Linked DNA regions of Homo sapiens: all the other regions are linked to region 3. Evidence: promoter capture Hi-C in 16 types of primary human blood cells and fetal thymus (Javierre and others, 2016). All regions are on one chromosome and are shown on one strand. The core of a region is centred on a gene start or on the middle of the fragment in contact, and the rest is flanking DNA. Distances in the headings are between cores, read along the strand shown.

Region 1 (3,850 bases), core at 1,124-3,623, 4.5 Mb after region 3:
CTGAGGAAGAGCAGGCAGGAAAGTTCTGAAGACAAAACTTCACAGGTGTGGAATAATCACAACACAATTCTGACACAGAGCCAGAAGATAATACTAAGAAAGAGAATACTGTGCATGATAAAGGGAAAGGGGATGTGGAGGGTTTGTAGAAAATAAAGCACCTGATGCAGCTGACCAGCTCAGAAGCTTAAACCGGGCACATTTCCCACTATAGATGAATAAAGTGGGATCAATTAACCCGAGTCAACTTAGCATCAGTCCTTGATCAATGTCGGGTGAATTTAAAAAAGAGAATGTCTGGGCCTGCAATTTTGAGGCCCAGACCCTTAATCCAAAGGAGCTAAGATCCAAAGGAGCTAAGAGTACTTGTAAGGCTCTGCCTGAGCATCCAGAGACTTCCTTGTGTCTGGTATTTCTATAGCTGCAACTGATCAGTAATTGTCCTGGATGACCATAAACACCACACGCAAAAAAAAAAAAAACACAAGTTAGTTTTCCCACTGTTCTTGAATGTCACTGTTTTCTCAAATTTGTGGAAAGTTAGATGAAAGAGAAGAAAGGACTGTCAACTAACTGCATCCCTTTTTAAAGAACTTAAAATCATTTCTTTCTGCTGCTAGGGATGCCGGCCTGCACTTTGGGTACCCTGGGTGCTTCTTGCTGAAGGGTCCAAGCTGTCCTGAAGGCAGATGTTGTTACTGGGATTCTTGGACTGGACTTGACACTTCCCTAAACTCTCATGAAATGCTTTAAGTTGGCTTAGGGAAGTTCTGAATAGCCATGGAGTCACATAACCATGCAATCAGGAGTCTGGAAATGGTGTATCTCATATTTCCAGATACACATGGTATGTGTTTATGGAGAATAGTTAGCAGTTATTAAAAACATACACTTCCAACAATAATCATATTGATACATTTAAAAGATTAAATAATGGCATCTCACCTGTAACAACCTTAGTCGTTGTTCATTGTTGAATCTTTCCACTGCAGCCCAGAACCACCGAATTACAATATGATTGTCATGGTATCCTATCAAACCAATCATAAAAGCCCATGTTACTTTGACTCTTCTATATTAAGCCACCAAGATACGTGACACGAAGAGTCCCCAGACATAAATCATCCTCTTGAATTCTTTACAAGTTGTCTATAATTTTAAGACTAAGGAATAACACTGTATATATGATCATATGAATGTCAAAAGTTAAACAAAAACAACATTAAGTGAAACCAAGAGGTCTCTGTTTTCATTTAACGGTCACTAAGTGAAACTAGTAAAGAGAAGAACAACAAATGAGTTATTTTAACCATATCATTTCTGTAAAATACAACAGTTGTTACTGGAAATACTTAACTCTTTCGGTCATTCACATAAGAAATAATTTTCAAATACCTCTATGCCAAGCACTGTACCAAGGTTGGGGGCATAATGGCAAAGAAAACAGACCCTCCCAGGGCTTCTGGCAGAGGGGAGACACATTAATCAAATAATTTATACAAACAAATACATAACTGCAAGCTCTCTTAAAAGCTATATATAATATTCATACTTTAAAATCAACTTAGTTTCACATTGACTTACTAATAAAAAGGGAAAAGTGACCTTTAGTTCCTTAAATAAATCCTGAGTAATCACCAACTTAATTTTACTCTTATTCCATACTTTAGTAGAATTTAAGAAAATGTCAAAGGAATCACCTCATGGGCAGTGATGATGGATTCCAAAAACCTTTCAGTGAAAACAAAAATTAAATTCAGAGAAAAGGCTAACAAGGATTTAGTGATTCAAACCAATGAATAGACATAGTTAATGGGCACTGAGTTAGTAGTCCAGAATAGAAGGCGGGTAGAAATTATTTTAATCCAAATTTTTCCTCACATTTCAGTAGTTGTAGGATTTGGGAGGAATCTCACCTTACTGTTTACCATTTCAGTGATGTTTAGTCCCCTTTGGAGAAAAAAAGGATCAAAGAGAAGGCTGATCAAAACTGGATTGAACATGAGGACACATGGGCCATGCCCAGAGTTTGGTGAAGACTAGCAATTTGGTACTGAGCAAAGTTTCTCATCTACAAAAGAAGTGCACTGGCTCTTTGTAGCTTTAAAGTTTTTTGACCTTATGAATTAGCCCTTTTCTGCTTCCCTTTTGCTATTTGTGCCAAACCTTTTGGAGGAAGAAGAGTGAATGTGTCTCATCATATTCTCTCCTAGCAGCTGGGGTGTGAACATATGGCAGGTGGCAGCCACACAGCCGCTTCTTTACTCAGTGCCAAGTAGCTGGGTGAGCAAACATGGCAGCTGAGGTTCTCAGCATTTTTCTTCCCCCTCCCAAAGATTTCATTTGATAAGATTTACAATAACCATATAAATAGGTCCTTGATTAGTCAGATTTAGTGAATAAAATTTTATGCCATGAAAATACAAAAATGGCTGATTCTATTAATGCATTGCTATTAGAATCTCCTGGGTCCGGGCGTGGTGGCTTACACATGTAATCCCAGCACTTTGGGAGGCCAAGGCAGGAGATCGCTTGAGGCCAGGAATTCGAGACCAGACTGGCCAACATGGTGAAACCCCATCTCTACTAAAAATACAAAAATTAGCCAGGTATGGTGGCATACACCCTCTGTCTGAAAAAAAAAATTCATCTCCTGGAAGGAAAGAATGAGCTAATAATATTTATGGTAAAATATAACTTATGTAGCATGTCAGAGAAATTGTGCTCTCAGTAAAAATCGATGGGTTAACAACATTATAATAACCAAAGAGATACATGGATTATACTTGGGCCAACTGGAAAATACTTATTTCAGCAATTGGACTTCAGAAATAGAAGCAATGGAAACTGCAATTAAATACAGCCTTTCAGATTAAATGTGTGAGCAAGGCCAGCCCATGGTGCAGGGATGAGCTGGAACAGGCAAGCACAGGCATAACCAAAAGCAATTTAGCAAATGTTAAGGCATTTTTTTACTACAAACTTTTAAAACTACCTTTTTTAAAAAAAATCTCTGCTTCAACTTAGAGATAACTAGAGAACTGTTCAGCTCTCAATTTACTCTGCTAAGTGATTAATTCAGTGATGTTAGGTTTGTAGTTTTCATTCTCCAAGTTCAGAACTACTTCTAATCTCTTATACTTTGAGTTAAAAAACAAAACCCAAAGGAGAAAACAACTGGTATTTGTCATGAATTTCTGAAGGCTTCCTAACATGGTGATAATTTTCAGAAAATGTATTCTTTGCTTAAAATTATTTAATAAAACCTTAACTCTGGGTTACCACCAGGTCCCTTGCAAAGTGTTGGTTTAACACTCAAATTTCAATGGCTTTGGTCCCAGTTACTAATCAATAATTTGTACTGATCTGCAGAAGTGTCACTTTTTTAGCTTCCCATTTTGTGAAGTGTCAGATAGTGCAGTTTTTAATTAATCTTACTACAGTCTTCTTTTCACTTGAAATTCATGCTTGAATTTAGAACTTCTCCAATAATGTTGTATTTTGGGAACTGTGTCTTATTCCATTCAAGTGTTCTGACTATGAATTACAACTGATAAGGAGCGTAGTGAACAGTGGAAAAACTGTGCTGATTGGGAAGCTCAAAGGGTGTGCTTTTCTAAGTTTTAGAAACAAAATGGAATAGGTGGAGTTTGACCAGCTGGATGTTAGCTCCTTGGTGCTTCACTGACAACACGATAAAGTAATTAATTAGTGTTCTTACGGTCACATTTCCTCACCAACAATTAAGAGTTATGACATCCTTTGACGGTGTGTAAACAGTCCTTCTCCCATCTGACAGATGAGGTAATTAGGAAAAGAAGAGAATGTACCTTGCCCAAGGTCTCAAGGG
Region 2 (4,144 bases), core at 540-3,039, 4.6 Mb after region 3:
ATCTCCAGTGGGGACGTGGGACAGGGGTGAAGGCAGGGAGGAGAGAAAGAAGGGTAAGTAGGGAATGGAAACAATTCTAGGCCAAACAACATGATGATGTTTCAGTTTCCCCATTTGAAAGGAGGAGATGGATGAAGAAAGGCCGAAACAACATTCATGACATGTTCTGCTGTGAAGTTTGTTTCACAGAACTGAACAGAGCTGAGCACTATTCCTACACTCAGGTCAGTTCAGGAGACAGAAACTTGCAGTGGAGGACATTGGGATAGCTTTATAGCTAATGAATATACTATGCACCAACAAAGACATACTTTTCAGAGGAAAAAAATAAATCAGCCTTTTATTTTGCCTTTATTTTTGCATGAAAAGTGGCAGTGTCTTCACTATTTGTTTTAAAATGTTAAGCTTAATCATGTTTCATTCCAGGACTATGTTTTAGATGATCCTATAATTTACAAATTCCAAAATAATTATGCCGACTAAAATGAAGGCTAGTCATCCCAAATCACAATCAATTTCCTAGAGGCCCAACTGTGCCCTCTCCTTTCACCATCTATACATTATGTGGTTTGTGTCACTTTGACTTACTTTAACTTCCCTGGGCCTTGTCCATATCCTTTAGTCTCTAACTTCCTGTAAAAGTTCCTCAGTTTGGCTTCGAAATCCCGCTTGTAAGGGGCTGGAGCCCGGGCATTGGCACGCTGGGTACCTGCAGCAAACCACAAAGAGAGGACAATCTGGATTTGTGCCTCGTCCTTATGTTCATCACATCACCATGGACAAAAGCTATCACAATCAACAAGTCAAATGAGGCAACTGTCTTAACTTCTGCATTTTTGATTTCTGCAAGTTGAAGGATATAACAAACCTCAACCAAGGTCTTAAGTGACGTCCTCTTTGTGGCATTTTGGTTGAGAATAAAAATTCTGTTTGAATAGTTACAATGGTGCCCATGTGTTTCTCAAGTATGTTCCCCTTTTCAGTCGAAACTAATATGAGTCAAACAGAGTTACTCATGTCTAGTAGTAACTGTTAGGATGAAATGTCTTTGCTTGCTGCTGAAATGATATCATGGCAATTAGACAGGAAGTTGCAATGGAAAGTACATGGTATATAAGTAAGTGGCACCAAGAGTGAGGTTTTAATCATTCACTCTAAATTCCTCACCAAAAAACTCCTCATGAAACTTTTTTTTTTTTTTTTTTTTTTTTTGAGACGGAGTCTTACTCTGTCACCCAGCAGGCTGGAGTGCAGTGGTGCAATCTTGGCTCACTGCACCCTCCGCCTCCTGGGTTCAAGTGATTCTCCTGTTTCAGCCTCCCAAATAGCTGAGATTACAGGTGCCTGCCACCATGCCCAGCTAATTTTTGTATTTTTAGTAGAGACAGGGTTTTGCCATGTTGGCCAGGCTGGTCTGGAACTCCTGACCTCAGGTGATCCACCCACCTCAGCCTCCCAAATTGCTGGGATTACAGGTGTGAGCCACCGCACCTGGCCTACAAAACTTCTTTTAGATATGCACTATCACCAAGAATGATTTTAGACACATAATTACATAAATCTCATATTGCAGGGTAAAATCTTAATATAACACATAATTGCAAAAGGCACCTGTCTCACTTGCACAAAGTGCGCACTTGCACAAAGAATAAATAATATTAATATTTATTGGATTCTTTTTTTTTTTTTGAGACGGAGTTTCGCTCTTGTTGCCCAGGCTGGAGTGCAATGGCACAATCTCAGCTCACCGCAACCTCCATCTCCCGGGTTCAAGTGATTGTCCTGCCTCAGCCTACTGAGTAGCTGGGATTGCAGGCATGTGCCACCACGCCCGACTAATTTTGTATTTTTAGTAGGGTCATGGTTTCTCCATGTTGGTCAGGCTGGTCTTGAACTCCCGACCTCAGGTAATCCACCTGCCTTGGCCTCCCAAAGTGCTGGGATTACTGGTGTGAGCCACTGCGCCAGACCATTTATTGCATTCTTAACATGTGCCAAGTACTGAGAATATCTAGATTATATAAGCATATTTTATACGTTATTCAATGGTAATTATCACTAATAATATGTAAAAGTAACATTGTTTCTCTTTCCTTTTTTTTGACACGGAGTTTTGCTCTTGTTGCCCAGGCTGGAGTGCAATGGTGTGATCTCGGCTAACCCAACCTCTGTCTCCTGAGTTCAAGCGATTCTCCTGCCTCAGCCTCCCGAGTAGCTGGGACTACAGTCTTGCACCTCCACGCCCAGCTAATTTTGTATTTTTAGCAGGGACGTGGTTTCTCCATGTTGGTCAGGCTGGTCTCGAACTCCTGACCTCAGGTGATCCGCCCACCTCGGCCTTCCAAAGTGCTGGGATTACAGGCGTGAGCCACCATGCCCAGCCAATTGTTCCTCTTTCCATAGAAAAATCTGGTTTTGTGTCACTGGGTAACACAAGCAGCAGGTTGGGATAGAAAACTGATGATGAATATGGAAATCAGACACAGAGCCATGACAAAAACACTGGATATTTCCACTAAATATTTCCCAACCAATGAAAGAAACCAGAAAACAAAAGCTGGGAAGTCTTGTTCATTACATACCATGTAAGTTCATTAAAAATGTCTCTAACAAATGAGTGAACTAAATAGTTGTTATTCATTGGGAATACTATGTTAGGTTCACCAATGGATGTCCAAAATGAGTAAGGTGGGGTTGCTGGAGTGGGTTGGGGAAACAGAAATAAAACATCAAACAATTAGAGAATAATTAAGTCCTGAACTAGGTATACAGACTAGAAAGCAGAGGAAACAAAGCTATACCCCTGGGGCTATACCTAGTCCTATAGATCCCAGTTGCTTGCCCCATAATCTTTTTTGAATATTTTAAATTAATTGCCAACATTTACAAATTAAATTTCAAATTTAAAAATTCCAGATTTTTCTCTTGAAAATTATTTGGGAAATCTTGCAATGACTGGCTTGCATTTCCTTGGGGATCCAGCGGGCAGCTGCAGCTACTCTGTTAGACGAGGCATGAGCTCACCACTTTGCGGCAGCCACTCAATGACATGGCTGCCTGCCCCCCAAGCCCCGCAAGCATTTGTTAAGATCAGTGTTACACAAAAGTAATAGTAATGTTATAAAAAAGAAATGAGTATAAGTAGAGATCAAAGTGGAAAAGGCCTTAGGGAGGAAGCTTAATTGGAACCACACCTTGCAAAAGAAGGAGAATTTATATCCTAAAGTGGAACACAGCAGCAACAGCTGGCATGAGCACTGCATGTGTGTTCAGAAGACACCAAGAGAACCAAGCTAGCCTAGAGTGGAGGAGGAGTGCTGGGAGTAAATGGGAAATGAAATTGATCAGAAGGGTTGGAGCCAAATTATGACAAGAATTTTTAAAACCTAGCAGAGGAGTTTGGGCATGATGCAGTGAACAGTGCCTTTATAGGTTCTTGAGCAGAAGAATAACATACAAATGGTGTTTTATTTAAGAAATTATTTTCAGAGTGTGTTGAGTAAATTAAGGGTGGGCAAGAGGAAAGAGCCCCAGTTAGGAGTTGTTGCAGTAATTGAAGCCTGAGGGGATAAGGACTAGACTGGAGTGAGTGACTCAGAGAAACATCTACAATGTGAAATATGCACTGGGAAAAGAATAGATAAGCAAGAAAGAAGAATGGGAAGCATGATGATAATATAAAGTGTATTTAAACAATAACAACAGGTCTTACTTGTTAAGCGCCTGCTGTACATTACAGATGATGCACGTTACACAGGGGATCTTGAGAAATCCTCACAAGTCTACGAAGCGGGTATTACTAGGACCATCACACACCACTTTGCAACTAAAGAAAATGAAGGTGCAGTTTCCTGTCCAAGTCATATTCCAGTGACAGTAGATTTGGGATTTGAGCCAAGTCTATCTACCTGATGCTATGAAGAGTGTGGGAAGTGATGCAGGTGGACAAGGGCATGTGAAACTTTATACATATTGACTTGGATATGACAGCTAACAAAATGCCCTAGAGACTGAAAAATACAGGGCTGGAATTGGGGTGAGAGCTCAGGGCCACACGTGTGGATGAGCTGAGTTAGTGTGTTTATGGCACTTTATGCAGTGACTGTTGCATAAGAGATCCCACGTAAGTGTTAGCTGTTGTTAT
Region 3 (3,999 bases), core at 807-3,306:
TGCTTTTGTGGGGCTTGATTTTCTGTGTCTGATTTCTTTTTATAAAATGTTCATATAATTAGCCTGAACAGCCCAACCTAATCCCTTTTCTGGGGGCAAATGATTGAGAGTTGAGTGGCAAACTTTCTTTGCCCAAACTCTTGGCCGTAACTCTTAACATTCTTAATTGGTTTCCTGTCTATTCTTAATCTTTTGAAGATCTTGTCAAACCTTAAAAAAAAAAAAAAAGAGCTCTGCCTTAAATATTGCTTCTGTGAGAATATTTTGCCTGTTTAAGAAAATACAGCTTTGAGTACAATCCAATTGAAGTGTCAAGTCCTGCCAGATAACCATGGTAGAATTAGAGCTTCTGAGCTGGATTGGGATTGAGGTTGGACGCTGGCTCTGCCATTAACTGGCATGTTTCATCATTTGTTTTATTTGATGTTGAAATTATGCTTATAATTTTATTTTACACCACTTTCCAGTATGACATCAGTGTCTTTGGCACCTTGGGCTTTATTAGTTCATGAAATGGAAGCTTCTGTTTCCTTAAAAATGCCTTGACTCTCTTGCTAATGTTGTGATAATGTTTCCAACTCTTTCTAGGGCTATAATATCTATGCTGCTTGTTTGCAAATACTTGGGAAGTGGTGGTTGATCTAAAGATACTCAGAAAGAATGGGGAGAAAATTAAGGCTTCTGACACTTTTCCCAACATTTCTGTTATCATCACCAAGAATTAACTAGATGATTCTTTAATGCCCCACTACTTTATTCTGCTATTTTATTTCTTCAGTCTGTTTTTGACTCTTATAATGACACCACTGGAAGTTAAGTCTAAACATTACCTTTAGGCTGGAGAGCTCTGGGGTCAAGATTGACTAGATTTAAAACCCAGCTCAGCCATTCTCTAGCTATCTGGTCTCTGGTGAGTTCCATCGCCTGTAAAACGGGGATTAAAAAGGGGAAAATACTGAGTATGTACTATTTGCTAGGCACTAGTTGGACAATTTATGATCCATTTAATCAATCTTCTGCTAGGCAGGGATCCCCATTTTATTATGGTTAAAAAGCTGTAATAAAAGCCAATTGACCTAAAGCTCTCACAAGTAAATAGCTGGAGCCCAGGTTTGTCTCTAAAGCACATGCTCTTTTCACTACGCGACATAAAAAAAACTTTATTAATCTTTTTTTCCAGATTATGTTTCAAGGGTTCCCACTGCTGTTGAATAATTAATTCCTTTTAGATGTACAAAAGCAAGTGCAAAGTAAAAGAAGAAAAGCTAAATGGGGAAGGTGTGTAATATGAGAGGCAGGGGGTAAGGAAAAATGAGAAGTCTGCAAAGGAATTTACGTCCTATCTGCTTAGCATTACACAGTGGAAGCCCACGTCAGACATTTGTGTTGCAGTCCTGCCTGCTCAGGGGTTGCTGGGTGACCTTCTGCAAATTACCTCATCTTTCTGGGTTTCAATTTAAGTATGCCTGAAATGAGGCGGTTGAATTGATCTCCAAATTCCCTTCTGGTGCTAAACTTCCAGCCTTGTAGCCACTGACGCCTTCACCATCCCAGCCTGTTTTCCCTTGGTACCGGACCAGCTGCCCTTGCCCGAACCCTGTTCTTCCTCGACTGCGAACTTTCTAACGTACTCACAGGTTCTAAACTCTACCGTTCCTCGTGACCGAGGGACTAAAGGGCCCGGGCAGGGGCTCAACTCTGAGAGAAAAAAAGGCAAGAAAACTCCAAAGTTGGACAGCAAGCGTCAAAAGACTGCACAGCAGGAAGGCGAAACCGAACAGAACTGCTGCTGCGCGGCGACAGCTGAAGTGGGTGGAGAACGGGAGGGCGGGGGAGGCGGGGCCGAGAGCGATTGGAAGGACGAGGGGGCGGAGCCCGCGCTGACAGCCCCCGGGGAGGAGCGAGGGAAGCTCTGCGGGCTGCGGCGGCCGGGTCCCGCCCCTTTGCTTCCCCTCCCCAGCACCAGGCGGGCGTGGCAGCAGGCGTGCCGACGCAGCGTGACTTCACAAGGGGAGGGGCGGGCCGAGGGTCCTGCCGGCGCGCGGGCGTGTTCATCAGTCGCTGTTTGGGACGCTGGGTGTGCGGTGTTCTGTCTCCGCTCCCGTTTCGCTGTCACAGCCCGTTCCTTCCCGGAGCCCGGGACAGGCTGGGCGCGCGCCCGTGTGAGTGAGCGGGACTCAGGGCAGAAGTGTCCCCTCACTGCGTTTTTTTTTCCTTTTATCCAAAGAACGGGGCAGTTAGTACGCTTGCCTTCCTGTCGCCCGGTTGGGAGCGGGGTTGGTGTGCGGAGTGGTTCGCCTTTTTTTCTTTAGAACTTGTGAGCCTTTTTTTTTTTTTTTTTTTTTTTTCTTTTTTTAGGCTCAGTGCTGTCCGGGCTGGTTTGCCCGGTCCCTGACTAACGGCTTTCTGCCCCTTCTCTCGCCACCCCTGCCCAAGGTCGCCCCTCTGCCTTCGCCCCTGTCCCGGGAGGGTGGGAAGCTTTGACCCCGCCCTGCCCACTCGCGTCTCCGCAGCCGTAGCCGCGCCTGTCCCAATATGAATAGGGTCAACGACCCACTTATTTTTATAAGAGATATTAAGCCCGGACTGAAAAACTTAAATGTCGTCTTTATTGTCCTGGAGATAGGTAAGTGGGGTTTGCAGCCTACTCCACCGCCCGCTGTGCCTCCCGGGGCGGGAGACAGGGGCGCCGGCCGCTGCGCGCCCGGGGCTCCCCTCCTCCTCCCTCCCCTCCCCCACCCACGTGGCTCTAGTGGCCTCCGCCCGAGATCGGATCCTACCTGAGGCGGGAGCCCTGGGCTTGGTCACTTCCCACCTTCCAGATGTATTAAAATACCGGAGGAGGAGTTAGCCTTTCTGGATGTCCTCATTATCTAACAACCCCTCCCTTTGATTTTTAAATCCTCACAGGACGCGTGACCAAAACCAAAGACGGCCATGAAGTGAGATCGTGCAAAGTAGCAGATAAAACGGGCAGCATCACTATTTCCGTGTGGGATGAGATCGGAGGTCTTATACAGCCAGGGGATATTATTCGGTTGACCAGAGGGTAGGTGTGCAAAAAAGTCGGGGGACCTAACAGTCTGCAGAATCGGGATTGGCCGGCTCCTGGGATCTTGGCAAGCCCTGAAGTCCCCCGCCTTTTCTGTGGGCCACTCTTGAGGAGTTTTGAACTCCTTTGGTGTTAACTTTGGGTGGTGGGCAGCGCTGGGATGTAACAGACCTTTGCAGTGAAAGGCAGTCGGTTTCAGCTGGGAAATCCGCGCCTCTACCCCGGTTTACAGGTTAAGTAGATTTTTAATTATTATTATTTTTTGGGACCGAGTCTCGCTCTGTCGCCAAGCTGGAGTGCAGTGGCGTGATCTCTCCTCACTGCAGCCTCCGCCTCGCGGGTTCAAGAGATTCTCGTGCCTCAGCCTCCCAAGTAGCTGGGACTACAGGCGTGTGCCACCACGCCCAGCTAAGTTTTGTATTTTTAGCAGAGACGGGGTTTCAGAGTGTTGCCCAGGCTGGTCTCCAACTCCTGACCTCAAGTGATCCGCGCGCCCCAACCTCCCAAAGTGCTGGGATTACAGGCGTGAGCCACCACGCCCGGCATAGATTTTTAGTTCTATTCTGAGTCAGTGAGTCTTTTTAGGAGACTGGTATAGTCCATATTTTTTCTTTTTTATAAGTTGTTTTCTCTAGTGTAGTTGCCACTCAGTTGTTTCCCACCCCTTCTCCATTTTTAATGACTTGAAATCCTGGCCAGTATTTTACATATGTTATTTAGAAATGTGGACATAAATGAAAATTATAGGTAAAGGATTTAGCATATTCTGTGATATGTCAAATTTGTACTTGGAAAAAGAGGGAAACTTTACAGTATCTGGAAGGCTCATTCTCCAAAATGATTTCTTGTGTCTTCTGCTGTAAGGTGGATGTTGCGCAAAAACCAAAGGGATACACAGAAAATGTTTGGCAGAAAGGCATCTACAATACCTTCATCCAAAAGAGTCA
Region 4 (3,939 bases), core at 245-2,744, 4.6 Mb after region 3:
TGAAACAAGGTTTGTTCTTTTTTTTGGTTAGGATATTAGAGGGCCCTCGTGTGGTTACCATTGGTCCCTGCAAATCGGTAAAGTAGAGCAGTTTTTAGTAATTCTTAGTTCAGCCCTTTTTCTCCAGGCACATAAAGTATATAAATCAACTCTCTCAAAAATATCCTAATTTTAAAGAATACTAGTGAGGATTCCATAATCCCATATCCCTGGATGGATATTTTAATGTAATATAGAAAACTTCACTTAAGAAATTCTATCATCTCATACCAGTTAGAATGGCAATCATTAAAAAGTCAGGAGACAATAGGTGCTGGAGAGGATGTGGAGAAATAGGAACACTTTTACACTGTTGGTGGGACTGTAAATTAGCTCAACTATTGTGGAAGACAGTGTGGCGATTCCTCAGGGATCTAGAACTAGAAATACCATTTGACCCAGCCATCCCATTACTGGGTATATACCCAAAGGACTATAAATCATGCTGCTATAAAGACACATGCACACGTATGTTTACTGTGGCACTACTCACAATAGCAAAGACTTGGAACCAATCCAAATGTCCAACAATGATAGACTGGATTAAGAAAACGTGGCACATATATACACCATGGAATACTACGCAGCCATAAAAAATGATGAGTTCATGTCCTTTGTAGGGACATGGGTGAAGCTGGAAACCATCATTCTCAGCAAACTATCACAAGAACAAAAAACCAAACACCGCATATTCTCACTCATAGGTGGGAATTGAACAGTGAGAACACTTGGACACAGGAAGGGGAACATCACACACCGGGGCCTGTTATGGGGTGGGGGGAGGGGGGAGGGATAGCATTAGGAGATATACCTAATGTAAATGATGAGTTAATGGGTGCAGCACACCAACATGGCACATGTATACAAATGTAACAAACCTGCACATTGTGCACGTGTACCCTAGAACTTAAAGTATAATTAAAAAATATATATATATATATATAAAGAAATTCCACATTTAACCAAGTTATATTCATTTCTTCCTGTGAGGCTGAAAATGGGTGTGCAAATGGGCTTATCATCTTCCTGTCTCGAACATTTTAGTACATTATCAACACCCTCTCACCTTCCTCTGAGTCAAAAAATCTTAAATTTCGTCAGTTTTGCCTCATATATCCTACCTTTTTAAATTTGTGATTTAGGCTGTATGTATTTCCAGAGAAGCCCTGTCAACATTCGAAAGCTTTTCAGCCTCTAAATCAAACTCAAAAAAAAAAAAAAGAAAAAATGCTTTAAAAAAATCAGTCAAATTCCTCAAACCATCACATACTAGAAGCTTCTATCAACCAACAGGTCAGTCCCCAAAACGCATGACTCACCTCACCCGCACTGTGGCTGCGTTGCCTTGTCAGGTGTTGCCGATGAACCAGCGCACTTGTGGGTCTACTGCTCTGAAGTGGGAGCCGGGGATCAATGAAAGTGGTGGTGCGGGAGTTGTGGTCCACAAAGAATGCCTAGGATACAATACACTGAGTCAAATACATGCCGCTCACATGTCTTAGCTGACTTATAACATCAGACGGTCAGGAAAAGACTCACTTCTGAGTCACAATCTTAGCTCTATTTTCTCATAATTTTCAATCTTTGGGGAAATTTCTCCTTACCCACACAGGACAGATCAGATTAGAGAAAGCCAAGCTTAGATGAGATCCAGAACGAAGAGAGCAGGAAGGAACATTATGCCTGGTTTTAGGAAATGCTCCACGAGATAGTCACCAAAGACATGATCCAAGAAGGAAGCCAGAAGAATGGACATTTAGGCTTCTCTTAACTGATGGTCTTTGAGCTCTTACTGTCATATGTGGTTATTATAAAGTTCTTACCACCTTGAAACTTAAAAAAAAAAATTTTTTTTTTTGAGACGGAGTCTCGCTCTGTCACCCAGGCTGGAGTGCAGTGGCGCGATCTCAGCTCACTGCAAGCTCCACCTCCCAGGTTCATGCCATTCTCCTGCCTCAGCCTCCCGAGTAGCTGGGACTACAGGCGCCCACCACCACGCCCGGCTAATTTTTTGTGTATTTAGTAGAGACGGGGTTTCACTGTGTTAGCCAGGATAGTCTCAATCTCCTGACCTCGTGATCTGCCTGCCTTGGCCTCCCAAAGTGCTGGGATTACAGGCGTGAGCCACCGCGCCTGGCCGAAACTTTTAAACATCATTGACTTCTCTTCTTTCTTCCTTCTCCTATACAGTAAGCCACAAAATCCTTCTCATTTTCTCACTGTAGTGTCCTCTATTTGTCCCCTCCCAGCCTGAACACCACCCCATTATTTTGGGACTTTATTTTATGTGTGTAAGTGCTGGTGGCTTCTCAGCTGCTCCACATCTCTATCACCATAGTCATTTAACTGGCCCGTTACTATAAGAATATTCTTTCTAAACACTTCAATTACATCACCACCCCAATACAAAGCTTCTCATGGCTATCCATTGTCCACAGAAAAGACATTCCCACTCTTTGGTCAGTTTTTCATTACTCTTTAACAGTCTGCCTACATGCCTTTCCAGTTTAGTCGCCCATTACACACCCATACAAACTCATCACATACCGTCTAGAACTTTGGGTAAGTCACTTAAGTTCTCTGAGCTATATGTTTCTTACAAAAACATGTCTCCTTCATTCCTGACATTTCTCCCCCATAATGTGTTAGAAGAATGGAAGCCATGTCTGTCATGATCACTGCAGAATCTCTGATAACATGAAATCATGAATGAGCATAAACCATTTACCTCAGCATTGCAGTAAGATGGACTACAATGTAGCAAAGCATTTTTTGGTCTGTTTGTTTAATTCTAAAACTATACAAGTGCTATCTATCATTATCCTTAGGGGCCCAATGTTGTAAGTTTTCAAAGTAAAATTGACTCAAGGTAATAATGAAACCCATTATCTTAAGTACAATTAGAAATTGTAAGTTTTCCATGATCAGATAGTTAATTAGGTCATCAAAGATGAAAGAGGCTATTAGGAGAGCCAGGAGACTCAGTACCTATAAACCAAGTATCAAGGCACATGATGTATGCCAAATAACAGGCAAAAAAGAACTGACCTTTCAAACCAATGGAGCTCAGTTAACAAAGTACCTTAACACCTAGAGATGAAGGTATCTAGGCAAATGCCAGAGGCAGATAGTATATTTATGCCTATTTAGAAACCTATTTTCCCATTATGGAACAGAATGTTTCATATGGAACTCTATGTACATCATCAAGAAATGGGGCAGGTCCCATATAGAAAACATTTTTACATCTTTATAAAGAAATAACTTTAAGCAATGGATGTACCAGAAAACAAAGCAGAAAAATGGACAGAACAGGAATCTTTCCCAGTCCTTTCTCTTACTATCCAATTCTGGGTACAAAAAAATAAAGGTTTTGTGTGAGATTTTGTCATCAGCCTCACATCCTGGGTAATGTTTCCTCTTCACTAACCTTGAGTGAAACATCCTTCTTCTCAGGTCTTGTAAAAAGTACTCCAGTGATAAAACCTGTGTGGACTTGCATTGACAGGTTCTGACCCCAAATGTCACATTGGTCCCATTTGGTTTGTGCTTCTAATACAATTGTCCACTATTTCTGCCACTACTCAAAATGTCATAAAATAGCAATTAAACTATTTTGCACCAATGGATGTGGCTAATACCTATTTTTAAATAATACATATTAGAACCAAACCCATATCCTCTGTATGTAAATGGAGAGTAACAAGCTTTTATTACTAACACAATCCTATTAACCATCTTGTTTAAGGGAAAAATACAAAGAGCATAAATTAGAATGGCCTATTTACCTAATTTCTTAGGAATGTTTTGAAGGGATGGGTGGTCATTAACGGTACAATGATGCACTTGTAATTATAAAGACAAATGGGTGTCTACATGTAGGTCAACTATGATTTGTAT
Region 5 (3,882 bases), core at 832-3,331, 4.5 Mb after region 3:
AACAAACATCAAACTGGCACAGAGGGAATGCCAATGATGTGCTTGTTCTCTCATCTAAGAGATGTTCTGCATACATATATGATGTATTAAGAGTGTCTTCTATAGTATAAAGAGCATCACTTAAAATAAGACCAGAAAGCCTAGTTATCTGGGTTCACAGTCCAGAAGAAAATATTTATGGATATTTCTAATTGTAGAGTACATGAAAGTCTAATTTATTCTGTGGAAATGTTATTTAATATTTTATATAGTTATTACTGGCTGTTTTGTTTTACTAAGAAAGAATAATAGATAAGTTAGCATGGTGTTCTGATATGATAAGTACATCTTTGATAATTCCCAATCTGAGAACAGTATCAACTAGATGATTATACTAATTAAGAATGTCTACATACATTAAAGTGTACTGTTATTTGGGAAAAAGTTGGATGCCTTAATAAAGAAATATATTTGTTAGAAATAATTAAAGAGATACATTTTATTTCAAATATCTTTTACCTAATAATATGAAATACCATAACTAAATGTCTCAAACCAAAATGAAGGATAACATGGTCTTTGAATGTATTTTTGAAAGAAATGCAACCTTTATCTGCTGCTTGGAGAATGCCAGCCCTGAAACATCTTGTATACCATCAAATATGTGACTTAAAAAAAAGTGTGTTATACTACTTTTCCTTATAATGAAAAGAATACAAACAAGTGAAAAGTTTGCAAAATTAAATATATACTTGTATTCATGATCAATAAGTACAAACTAACATTTCCAGTTAAAAGTTTTTCTTTTTTTCTCTTCCAATTATAGAATACAGAGAGCTCTTCCTTTCTTATTTCCAGATTTCTATAACCCTTTTTCAGAACATTTCTTCACACTGCAGTACGTGCCTTTAGTGCAGGAGTGTAACATAAGTGGTATTCCTCTTGAGGGTCCCAGTAGTAAACATAGCTTAACTCACAGGAGAGCAATCAGTTCTTACAAAACACCTATGAAAACTATGCATATGACCTCTATAAAATGTAAGATTGCCAACATCCCATAATAGGAATTCCATGGCTGCTTATAAATATAGATCTCAAAGAAATGTTTGGGCAATGCCTGTAAACCCATAGGCTGGCAAACCATATGTCAATCCAATGCTTTTATGACCCCCAATTTAACTTCACTCTATTGAAAATCTGATTAGTCAAGAAATAAACAAAGATGTGGAGTAATCCCAAAAGCAATTAAAATGAAGAATACCTTCTCATAAAATTAAGCAGAAGTAAGACTAGTGATGTCATGCAGTTTTGGAGATGCCATAGAAAAACTGTCTCTTAATATTAATAAGAAAATTATGCATCAGTGAAAATGCAGGCTTAGAAATATAGTTCTGAGTTTCAATTTGTGGTGTCTTCACTGATGAGGGAAAATGGAATTCTTACTACTGATCTCTTCAGTGTTGCTGATGGCTCCTTAACTGAGCTTAGTGTTTAATGATGCTGTACAAATAAAAAGCAGTGGGGGAAATACGAAATATCTGTATTAAATGCCATCCTGTAAAGTATTTGATGGATGGAAGAGAGTCTAATGCATTTTAAATAAATGCATATCATACTATCACATATAGTGAATCTTAAAAAATTATTACTTAGATGCACAGTCCTTGTAGTGGTAGACACGGCACTGTGAAGGAAGTTTGATTTAGAAGCTATTTTCTATTATACTTCTCAAGTGATGGAGTTGCTGTTAGTCATATTGTAATGTCCCTTCACCTTTGGTACATTCAGTGCAAAATATTTGGGGAATTTTTTTTACCTTTATAAAAATAAAAGGCCCTTTTGTTTCCTTGAGAGTGCTTAAAAGGATACATATTAGCATGATGCCCGAGTATGCATGGAACATGAAAATGGAATGAGTGATACATACAGCATGATAGGTAGGTTCTTATATACATCTTAAAGAACATAAACATAATGAACCTACAAAAAATAAACAGAACTCACTGTGTACTTTTTCCTGATATGCTGTGATTAATTGCTAGTTATTTTAAAATTGTTTTCATGCATTATAAAGCATAAAATCTGTCATTAGTAATTCACTGAATAATGGTTTGTCTTTAGCCATAATTACACACATACCACTTGCATATACATTGTCACAGACCATCTTATTGCAAATCTGTAAAGGTACCTCATATTGACTTGGTTTCATTTTCACTCATGTCCCATGAAAGCGGAAACCTATGGTGCACACCATGCAGGCACTCATAAGCAAGAAATGAATATTCTGTTATAACTTAGGGCTTAAATGAATGTACTTTCAGGAAATATATTTACTTTTATTATATTATTTAACTTGCTCTAATTTGGAGATTGGGCCAAATGCTGCCAGTTTGGCTTGAACCACGTTCAAGGGTAAGTTTCAAGATTCTCCTGAGTCCCTAAAAATTACCGTGGAGCTGATCATGTATGGGTTCATCTTTGTCTTGGAACATAACAAATGGAAAAAGTTTGGCAGTCAAGAACTGTTGATTGAAAGACGGTTGGGTTGTTCCCTGGGCATCAAGCTCACCCAAATCCTTCCAAGAGGACTCATCTCCAGTCCCCAAATGTGACAGAGCACTTGTTCCTGGAAAACAACAGCACATAGCTTTATCCTAAAGGAAGCATCCTCTTGAAACTTCCAATGTTCAATCATTCTTCTAGAAGGCAGCTTCTGAACCTGCCTGTCCACAGAGATGGGCATTCAGCTTCCAGGTCACTCAAGTCCAAAAGTACTGGTTTCTTCAACTGCTGTCAACAGTTTTTCATAAAGCATGGAAAAGGATGGGTAGGGAGGCAGATCCAGACGGTTAAAACATGTATGCGCTCTGAAAACACAAGAAACAGCACATAGTTTAGAACAGGCCGAGTGAAATGAAAATGTGTGTGGTGTGTGTGTGTGTGTGTGTCTGTGTGTGTATGACTGTCTTTCACATTCAAATTTATTTGTTGCCAATTTTCACACTCCTTTTGAAAAATCTTTGAAAACATTTTGACCTTAAAAATTCAGAACTGAATTTCTCTAAGGAAAAGAGGATATTTAAAAAAATATTTTATTTACATTTCACCACCATTTAAAAGCTATATTACATATAAATGACCATTTATTGAGTGGTCTAAGGATTACAAAGACAAGTTTGGTTTTTGTTTCTCTTTTGATGCTAGATTTTTTTTTTAATACACGGACATAAGGCCTTGCAAAGTAGTTCATTTTGAGTTGGCATATGCCTGGGTGTCTCTTCGATACTCTGTAGTTATGCATTTTTTCATTTTCTTGGACAGGGAAGAGGAGCCAGTGTCTCTGAGGGCCTGCCTCATGGCTTAGAGTCTTGGGAAATTCCCTGGCTGGACTTTTCTAAGTCAGTAGGCCATTGTTACTTCTTTGAATCCTGTGCTAAAATTTGCTTTCTCCCAATTCACAATAACAAAATAAGCAATTTAAATCATTACATTAAGTATTCTTTTTTAGAAATACTTCTTTTGCCAAGATAGGAAAAAAATATGTTTTCCTGTTATTTGCATCTGAATCACAATAAAAAATAGACAGTCTCCAAATAGTACATCTTATCAGGAAGCAAATCTGCACTTTTGACATGAAATAGGAAACATTCTATTCTGAATGTACAACAGCTTGTTTGGGGGACCTACATAACTTTGACTTAAAAAAAATACTCCTGAATAAGAAATTTTAGGAACTATGATTATTAACAAGCTATTTCTACAAAGTCACATGTCTATACTTTTACTCTGATAAATCCCTTTTCCTTATGAAATAAATATAATTAATATTCCTGGATGCAGTGTAATGTAGTGGGAAGACCAGAGATTTGCAGTTGGACATATTTGGGTTTGGATTCTAGC
Region 6 (3,766 bases), core at 403-2,902, 5.0 Mb after region 3:
GTCTTCTTCAGCTGGAATATAAGCTCCACGAAGGCAGGGAGTTTTGTTCGTACTGTTCTACCCAACCCCTGCCCCCCGCCTCATTGCCTATAACAGTGTGTGGCTCATGGTAAATGTTCAGGAAATATTTGTTAGATGTGTGAGTGAATGAAGACAGTGTTACCATATTATTTTCTAGTGGTTGTGATAAACAACATTGACTCCCTGGACTGTTATTTTGGAACCAACAGCATGTACTTGTATACGCTTTTGCCAGTGTACACCTATTGCCAGGTGTAGGAATGGAGCCTGTGTCCACAGAAGCATGTGTTCTCTTTTCAAAGTCATCTGGTTTTTACTAGTATATTACTTGTGACATTGGTCTTTTTCTTGCCATGCTTTCCATAAGGTTACCTGCCTAGAAGCTCTTTGGAAATATTCTCCCTAAACATCAAGACAGAATTCTGTTAGTTTGATAATAATATATGCATAGAAATTAGTTATGAATGAACTTTTTTAAAAATAAAAGTTTATATCTCAGTATTTTTATTATTGTTACTATCAAGCGTTAGGACTTAGGTTCAAGGCAGCAATCAATATTTGCTCCTTTTCAAACACAACAAAGCACAGATATGTTAAAGCTGTTGTCTCTTTGCTAGAATGTCAGCCATTAGAGGTAGATTGTTTTCATGTAAGACTGTGCTTCTTAGACTATGAGCCATAGAACTATGACTTATGAGGATCTGCCAAGTGGCCATTGGAGAGTGTGCGTGTATTTATGTATGTAGGGGTGTGGGTGGCATTTCTGCTACCACTGCTTTGGGCCTACCAGATGGGGAGGACAGGCAAGGGTATGAGCAACTGCAGTGAAAATGAGAATCTCTCTCTAACTTTAAGCCCCAACTTGGTAGATTAATTTACTGGATTGAAAGTTCTTATCTCATACTTTAACAGCCTCCCAGATACTCGGGGACTCTGCCTGGTGGCTTTAAGGCTGTCCTCTTGCTACTCAGCCATTACCGCCCCCTCCCTTGCTTCCAAGGACTCTCCTGACCTTGGCATTGTTTGGTTTTTGTTTTTGTTTTCCCATGGCGGGAAGTGGAGGTGGTGGTTGGGAGGGAAGGTTTTTAACTAACCCTGAGACTTGTTTTCATTTTTTATTTTTTTTTAGAGACAAGGTCTTGCTTTGTCACCCAGGCTGGGGTGCAGTGGCACAATCATAGCTCACTGCAGCCTCTACCTCCTGGGCTCAAGTGATCCTCCTGCGTCAGCCTCCCAAGTAGCTAGGGCTACAGGCACAGGCCACCATGCCCAGCTCATTTTTAAAAATTTTTGGAAGAGAATAGGGTCCTGCCATGTGGGCCAGGCTGGTCTGGAACTCCTGGCCTCAAGTGATCCTCCCACATAGGCCTTTCAAAAATGCTGGGACTACAGGCATGAGCCACTGTGCCTGGCCATGAGATCTGTTTTTAGTAAATCCCCAAAGGCTAGATTGGCTTATTTAATTTTTGTTTCAGCAACTTTGATGACCTGAACAGGATTCTCAGCGATTGACTAAGAGGATATTTTAAGGACAACACCATGTATTTCACTCAAAAGCTTTGTGCCCTGCCAACCATCAATCAGTGTCCGAGTCACCTCAATCTCCCCCTTCTTAGGGTGAATTTTCTATAAACCTCCTTCCCCTCAGAGGCTGGGCCAAGTTGGTTGCTCCTTTTTGAAAGTATATTTTCTCTATGGAAGCCTGAGAAGCTTCAGTGTAGAGCAGGGTCGGGTGGCACTCAGTGTGGATGCAAACCAAATTCCTACCGCGACATGTTGGACCTTCTTTTTTTTAAAACAAGTGAAGCAATTTAAATGATTTGCTGTTTTGTTTTCATGGCTGAATGTACACATGTCCTGGAGAGCCAATGTAAGCATTTAATACAGATCATAGGTTCCTTAGGGAAATATCAACAAAACTAAACATTTGAACAATTACATGAAAAAATTTTAGTTGGGAATCTGCATCCTATTCAAAATATGTGGGGGAGCTTCTCCATTTCCATTTTTTTCCAAAGACAGACTTTTGCAATATGAGTATTAGTATTATGTGCTTGGCTTCTGATATAAATGAACATAGACAAGACTCTATATTATAACCAGCTACCTGGGTCTAATAAATTGCCACAGAAATTGTTCTCCCTTCCCCTCTCCAGCACTGCTTGTCATTTTTACTTCTTCCTTCTACTTGTTTTTCCACCAGCTAATGCCTGGGCCTACTATATGTAGAAGAAAGTGACTAAAACAAACAAAAAAAAGTTTTTTATCTCACATAAGCAGAGTTTGAAGATTACTGGTTTTGCCCAAGTGTCAACATAGTCTGAGGTTCTCTGTCTTTTCCTTGTGTTTATCAGACACTGGTGATCCTTGGCTCTTCGTTTATATTTGAGAGTGAGCTGCTGCATACCTGACTGATGGAACGCTCTGGGAATTGTAAGGGGGTAGGAAAAGACAGGTGCCATCATTACTCTTTTTTTAATCTAGAAAAACAAAAGTCTGCCTAGGAGCCCTTTTGCAAACTTCTGCCCAAAGTCTCTTTGGCCAGAATATATCACATGAGTGTGCCTGCTGAGGCGAGGCTGGGGTCATGAGCTTTTCTGCTTCTTTTGGAGAGAGGACAAAGGAGCTGTGTCTGCGCACACCCTATTAGCCACCCTTTCCCTAGGTTTTCTCCCCATCTTTGGCATGATTTATCTCTAGGTCAGTAGCTGGACAGCAGGTGACAGAAAATAGAATGGAGGTGTTTCTCCATTGTTACCCCTCCATTTTTTCCCCACCCAGTGCTGTTGGTGGCTCCACCAACTGCAGCCCTGGTTTATGGCAGCTGATCCAGCCCGACGGGCTTACTCAGAGGCTCTTTCGTTTACTACTTGAGGAATACTATACTGGCTCATGTGGTAACATTACCAGGAGTCTCCACATCAGTTTTTTTTTTCCCAGAAATGTAGAGGAGCCCCACTTCGAATATTTTGCGTGTCCAGAGACTGCATCAATATCTGCATGTCTTTGTCTTTCCTTCAGGAATGAACTGAAAAAAATGAAAGTTAATTAATAGAAGGGAGCTTCTTTCACCCCATGTCCTTAAGCTGACTTAACAACAAATCTAAAGAATGCAAAAAGCTTGTGTCAAAAAAAGTTTCACAGTAGGGCATGAAAGAAAAATTCTGGTCAGAAACACCATAGTAAGAGTAAAAAGAAAAATAGGCTGGGCGTGATGGCTCATGCCTGTAATGCCAGCACTTTGGGAGACTGAGGCTGGCAGATCACTTGAGGTCAGGAGTTTGAGACCAGCCTGGCCAACATGGTGAAACCCCGTCTCTACTAAAAATACAAAAAAAAAAAAAATTAGCCGGGCATGGTGGCACATAACTGTAATCTCAGCTACCCGAGAGGCTGAGGTGGGAGGATTGCTTGAACTTAGGAGGTGGAGGTTGCAGTGAGCCAAGATCGCTCCATTTCAGTCCAGCTTAGGTGACAGAGCAAGACTCTGCCTCGAAAAAGAAAAAAATAGGCCATTTTCTGGAACCTGTGGGAAGAAGATACAAAGTGAATTGGAGAGCTATTTCAGGATGAAGAAACATCCTCAGCGGGTATAGCAAGCTCAGCCCCACCATGATTCTTGCTCCCTTAAATCCTGCCACCAGTCCTCCCACTTCATGAATTCTTGCCCTGGGTCCCAGGACCACCTTCAGCAACTTGAACATGAGGTGGACCCCCCTTTCACTTCCAGGAAGGTAAGGGTCAG
Region 7 (3,877 bases), core at 109-2,608, 4.5 Mb after region 3:
TGAGCTCTGGAGTTCAAAGTTGCAGTGAGCTATAATTGTGCCGTTGCACTCCAGCCTGGGCAACCCTGTTTAAAAAAAAAAAAAAAAAGAAAAAAAGAAAACAAACAACAACACAAATAAGTTAAAACATCTAGCTTTTTGAAAGATGAAAAAAAATGTTGGCCTTCTACTCTGGCTATACATTTTTACTTAGACTTTGGAATTGTGATCCAACTTTCAACAAGCAGAGTGTAAGATTTTCATTGTATTACTTCCCAGCTGTGCAATTTCTATAAAATGGGCAAGAGGCTCTGAAGAGAATGCCTGGTGACGCCATGCCATGTGCTTAGTTCATTATAAATCATTTCAAGTACCTCCAGCCTCGCTGAGCCAGTCAAAACAGAAATCTTCTAACGCATTTGAGAGAATCTTGTTTTATAGAGTGCTTAAGAGAGGCATGAAAAGCATACTAGATTTCAAATGTACCAAATTATCCAGAAAGGATTTTGGAACTGGTTCCTATTAGGTTACTTTTCATTATTATTTAATACGACATATAAAATATAACGCTTTTCTGTTTGAGCTGCTAGTGCCTGGAATGGTTCTGCCTTCTACAATTTCGCAAGCAAATTTTAACGCATTTCTATTCTAGTCTAGTTACTACCTTATTGCTAGACATCAAAAGTGAAAAGTGTGCAGGTCAGTTGGGCCCTTCAGATCTTTCCATTTCATGCTAACTCGAATTATTAGGGACTTAAATTAATTTTGACTAGAAAAAGCATCTTCTTCTACAGTTGAAATACTACCACAGATGAAGGATTCTTTGAAGCAGCGTCTTGAAATAATTTAGGGAAAACGTACAAGGTGAGCAACCCATTGCTATTTCCTCTCATCTCCAATTTCCACAGTTAACTTCTCAGCAGAAAGGCTTGTGTATAGTAGAAATCCACAGACAAGCATAAATTAGTACACCCCACCTTGAGAACAGGTTGAGAAATTTAAAAACTGGCACATGGAATGACCATTGTTAAGCTATTTCTTGCAAGCCTAAACTACAGATGCACCTTTTAAAATATGAGATGTTTGAGCACTTGACAGATGATTATCTTGGTCTACTTGAGAGAAGTTCCACAGGCATAAAATCAGTTGTCTTTATTTCTTCCTGTCTCTCACCCAGGCCTTTTTTTTTTCTTCCTGCTAAGAACAGGAAATTGCAGAAATAAAGATTTGATCAGTCGCCATTAATTCAGTAAGCTTTGTTTAGTTTAACCTAAGCTAACAGCACATTTATAATTTGCCCAAATAAATCACACAAATTATCAGAATAGGCTAGTTTTGTATATAATTATCTCTTAATCACCAGTCCTTGCGTTCTTCTTCTCATTAAGCCTGTCTCTGAGGAGGTTGTCCTTTCACAGTAAAAATAGGCAATACCTTTGAGACACTTTCTGTTACTCATTGACCTAGAAAAATCCCCTCTAGTAGCTCAGTCCTGAGTAGGTCTGAAAGCTTCTGGGTCAATCACACATGCTGAATGTGGCACAGGATATATTAATATTAATAACACTTGATGTCTGTACAGCATTTTAGTCAATATAGAGCTTTCACATGCAATGACTTATCTGAGCCTCAACAGTCTGGGGATTACTGTTAGCAAAGCTAGTGTTATCCCATTTTACAGATGAGAACAGAGGTCGTGAGAGTGACTTGTCCATCAGAGGTCAGGGTTCAGTCTAGGGCTGAAGACTGTGGGCTCTTTCGAGTGACCCCTAACAGAGAAGACTCTCCAGAGAGCACACTTACCTGAGACATGCTTTCTCTTTTCTCTCACCCCACCCCTTGCCTGAAGCATTATAGGAGCCCTATGACAGATCAGCTGCGAACAATGCAGAAGAAAGGGAAACATAATTTTTCTGGAGGACCCAAAGTCCAGATGGCAAGCCAGACCAAGCCCCACGGCTGTCTTACCTGCAGGTGTGTGCAGCACCAGAAGCCCCAAAACAGTGTTCACATCTCCCCATCTGGCCGGGCCACACTCACTCCCTGCTGTGGCCCAGATTGCCTGAGGAGGTTTCAGGTGGGGATTTAGGAAAATCAAGAATGATTTGCCACCTAAAGTAATAAGATTTAGCACAGAACTAAGAATTGCAAACCAAGAGCTAAGGTTAGAGGAAGATATTTAAGAGAAAGAAATGTACTTGCTGTTTTTAAAAGTTGACATTTCTGTAGTAAGAATGAAGAACTAAGAGTACAAATAATTAATTGTTTTTACAGTGAAATGACACAGAGGAATGTTCTAAGTAAAGCGGGGCAATACATTTATACGCAAGGTGCAATGTATCCGTCATTTTATTTAATTCTTGGAACACAACCTTGAATGGTTATTCTCACTTCTCAGATGAGGAAACCCAGGCTTACAGAGTTTGAGTGACTTACTTAAGGCCATATAGGGAGTGAGTGAAGACAAAATTTGAACTCAGATTACAAATCCCATTTCTTTTCAGGATACTGCACTACAATCCAAGTACAGCTTACCTGTTCTCACTTTTATTTTCCATTATGTCCCATCTCTGTAACTCATTATTCAAATAAGTTTATATTATTATAGTGGGAACCTACTTATCTGGTTATCTAACTTCTAAGGAACAGGAAGTAGGTCAAAACTCTTCTGAGAAACATAATAGATGTTACAACGTTCACATGTGAGAAGATTCTCCTTGGCAGCCATTCTGTCTTTCAAGTATACGCTGTAATTATTTTGGATGTTTATAGGACTGCAATGATAGGATACTGTGGGAGCTTTCCCTCTGATCTTCCAATGACTGGCTGCTCTTCCAACTTCAGTTCTCATCTTAAATGTTACATCCTCTGAGAGGCTTTCTCCATCCCTTGCTGCTCCCTGTTCTTTATAGCACTTTTTATAACCATTGGTAATTATGGACTTATTTGTTTATTGCCCATCTTCCCCATGACATTGTAAACTCCCCAAAGGCAGGAAACATGGCTGCTTTATTCAGCAGTGTTTCCTAGCACTTATGGTACCTGGCACAAAGTATGGTAAGTGTTCATGGGATGGATGAAAGAATGGACAAAGGGACATGCAGAAATATGTGGTTTTGTCGTCTGACCTAGGGAAGACTGGATTACGTTTTGAGCTAGGGTAGCTCAATCACCCTTTCCATATAAATAGCCTTGAGATTTGGTGGCCTCCCAAAGACAATAGACAGGAGCTATGAAGCCAGTCCACTGGGACAGGAGGAGGAAGGAAAGTAACATCTACTGAGCCCTTAACAAGTACAAAGCAATGAACTATTAGAAGTAATGGTGGCTGGGTGCGGTGGCTCAATGGTGGCTCATGCCTGTAATCCTAGCACTTTGGGAGGCCAAAGCAGGTGGATCATGAGGTCAGGAGTTCAGGACCTGCCTGGCCAAGATGGTGAAACCCCGTCTTCACTAAAAATACAAAAATTAGCCAGGTGCAGTGGCAGGTGCCTGTAATCCCAGCTACTCGGGAGGCTGAGGTAGGAGAATCACTTGAACCCCAGTGGCAGAGGTTGCAGTGAGCCAAGATTGTGCCACTGCACTTCAGCCTGGGTGATACAGTGAGACTCCGTCTCAAAAAAAAGTAATGGTAAAACCCACAATTACTCTTGCACCAACCTAATAGCTGTACATGGACTTATTTAACATAAAAAGCACTGCAGGAGAAAGAAAAACACCTATTTTACAAATGAAAAAAGTGAGACTTACACTGGTGAGGTTGCCCAACGTCACCCAACAAAGTGGCAGAACCAGGATATGAAGTGCAGAACCAGGATATGAAGTTAATCTGTCACTTTTTTTTTTTTTTAATAAAGCAAATTTGGCCAGGCACAGTGACTCACACCTGTAATCTCAG

Evidence for each region. Contacts are between HindIII fragments. The CHiCAGO score rates a contact against its expected background, and 5 or more counts as called.
Region 1: a fragment that was not itself captured here is called in contact with the fragment with the promoter of NABP1 in region 3 in 6 of 17 cell types (total CD4 T cells, total B cells, non-activated CD4 T cells and 3 more); the score reaches 10.3 in total CD4 T cells.
Region 2: a fragment that was not itself captured here is called in contact with the fragment with the promoter of NABP1 in region 3 in 12 of 17 cell types (monocytes, total B cells, activated CD4 T cells and 9 more); the score reaches 23.6 in monocytes.
Region 4: a fragment that was not itself captured here is called in contact with the fragment with the promoter of NABP1 in region 3 in 3 of 17 cell types (total B cells, activated CD4 T cells and non-activated CD4 T cells); the score reaches 8.5 in total B cells.
Region 5: a contact is called between a fragment that was not itself captured here and the fragment with the promoter of NABP1 in region 3, in 1 of 17 cell types (naive CD8 T cells). The highest score is 5.3, in naive CD8 T cells.
Region 6: a fragment that was not itself captured here is called in contact with the fragment with the promoter of NABP1 in region 3 in 2 of 17 cell types (non-activated CD4 T cells and naive CD8 T cells); the score reaches 7.5 in non-activated CD4 T cells.
Region 7: a fragment that was not itself captured here is called in contact with the fragment with the promoter of NABP1 in region 3 in 7 of 17 cell types (non-activated CD4 T cells, total CD8 T cells, naive CD4 T cells and 4 more); the score reaches 10.5 in non-activated CD4 T cells.

The regions. Positions count from the first base shown.
Region 1 is chr2:196,216,063-196,219,912 of GRCh38, forward strand. It overlaps HECW2 (HECT, C2 and WW domain containing E3 ubiquitin protein ligase 2), which reads right to left. Exons shown (of 29, transcript NM_001348768.2): 27 at 946-1,031. Among named protein-coding and RNA genes, the nearest start is that of HECW2-AS1, 42 kb to the right of the region's middle. RefSeq lists a silencer at 3,490-3,690. The HindIII fragment of the contact is 4,378 bases long and covers 185-3,850 here.
Region 2 is chr2:196,241,496-196,245,639 of GRCh38, forward strand. HECW2 (HECT, C2 and WW domain containing E3 ubiquitin protein ligase 2) reads right to left here. Exons shown (of 29, transcript NM_001348768.2): 20 at 589-709. Among named protein-coding and RNA genes, the nearest start is that of HECW2-AS1, 16 kb to the right of the region's middle. The HindIII fragment of the contact is 2,772 bases long and covers 404-3,175 here.
Region 3 is chr2:191,676,080-191,680,078 of GRCh38, forward strand. NABP1 (nucleic acid binding protein 1) reads left to right here and starts at 2,057. Exons shown (of 6, transcript NM_001031716.5): 1 at 2,057-2,626; 2 at 2,911-3,049. The coding sequence starts at 2,536. RefSeq lists enhancers at 1-15, 1,609-1,688, 1,898-2,400, 3,228-3,999 and silencers at 1,749-2,098, 2,699-2,758. The HindIII fragment of the contact is 1,958 bases long and covers 519-2,476 here.
Region 4 is chr2:196,277,170-196,281,108 of GRCh38, forward strand. HECW2 (HECT, C2 and WW domain containing E3 ubiquitin protein ligase 2) reads right to left here. Exons shown (of 29, transcript NM_001348768.2): 15 at 1,359-1,493. Among named protein-coding and RNA genes, the nearest start is that of HECW2-AS1, 19 kb to the left of the region's middle. The HindIII fragment of the contact is 362 bases long and covers 1,314-1,675 here.
Region 5 is chr2:196,198,540-196,202,421 of GRCh38, forward strand. It overlaps HECW2 (HECT, C2 and WW domain containing E3 ubiquitin protein ligase 2), which reads right to left. Exons shown (of 29, transcript NM_001348768.2): 29 at 1-2,849. The coding sequence ends at 2,738. Among named protein-coding and RNA genes, the nearest start is that of STK17B, 29 kb to the left of the region's middle. The HindIII fragment of the contact is 8,632 bases long and covers 1-3,882 here.
Region 6 is chr2:196,641,609-196,645,374 of GRCh38, forward strand. The region is part of intron 1 of CCDC150 (coiled-coil domain containing 150); the gene reads left to right. Among named protein-coding and RNA genes, the nearest start is that of CCDC150, 3.8 kb to the left of the region's middle. The HindIII fragment of the contact is 153 bases long and covers 1,577-1,729 here.
Region 7 is chr2:196,181,366-196,185,242 of GRCh38, forward strand. No RefSeq gene overlaps it. Among named protein-coding and RNA genes, the nearest start is that of STK17B, 12 kb to the left of the region's middle. The HindIII fragment of the contact is 255 bases long and covers 1,232-1,486 here.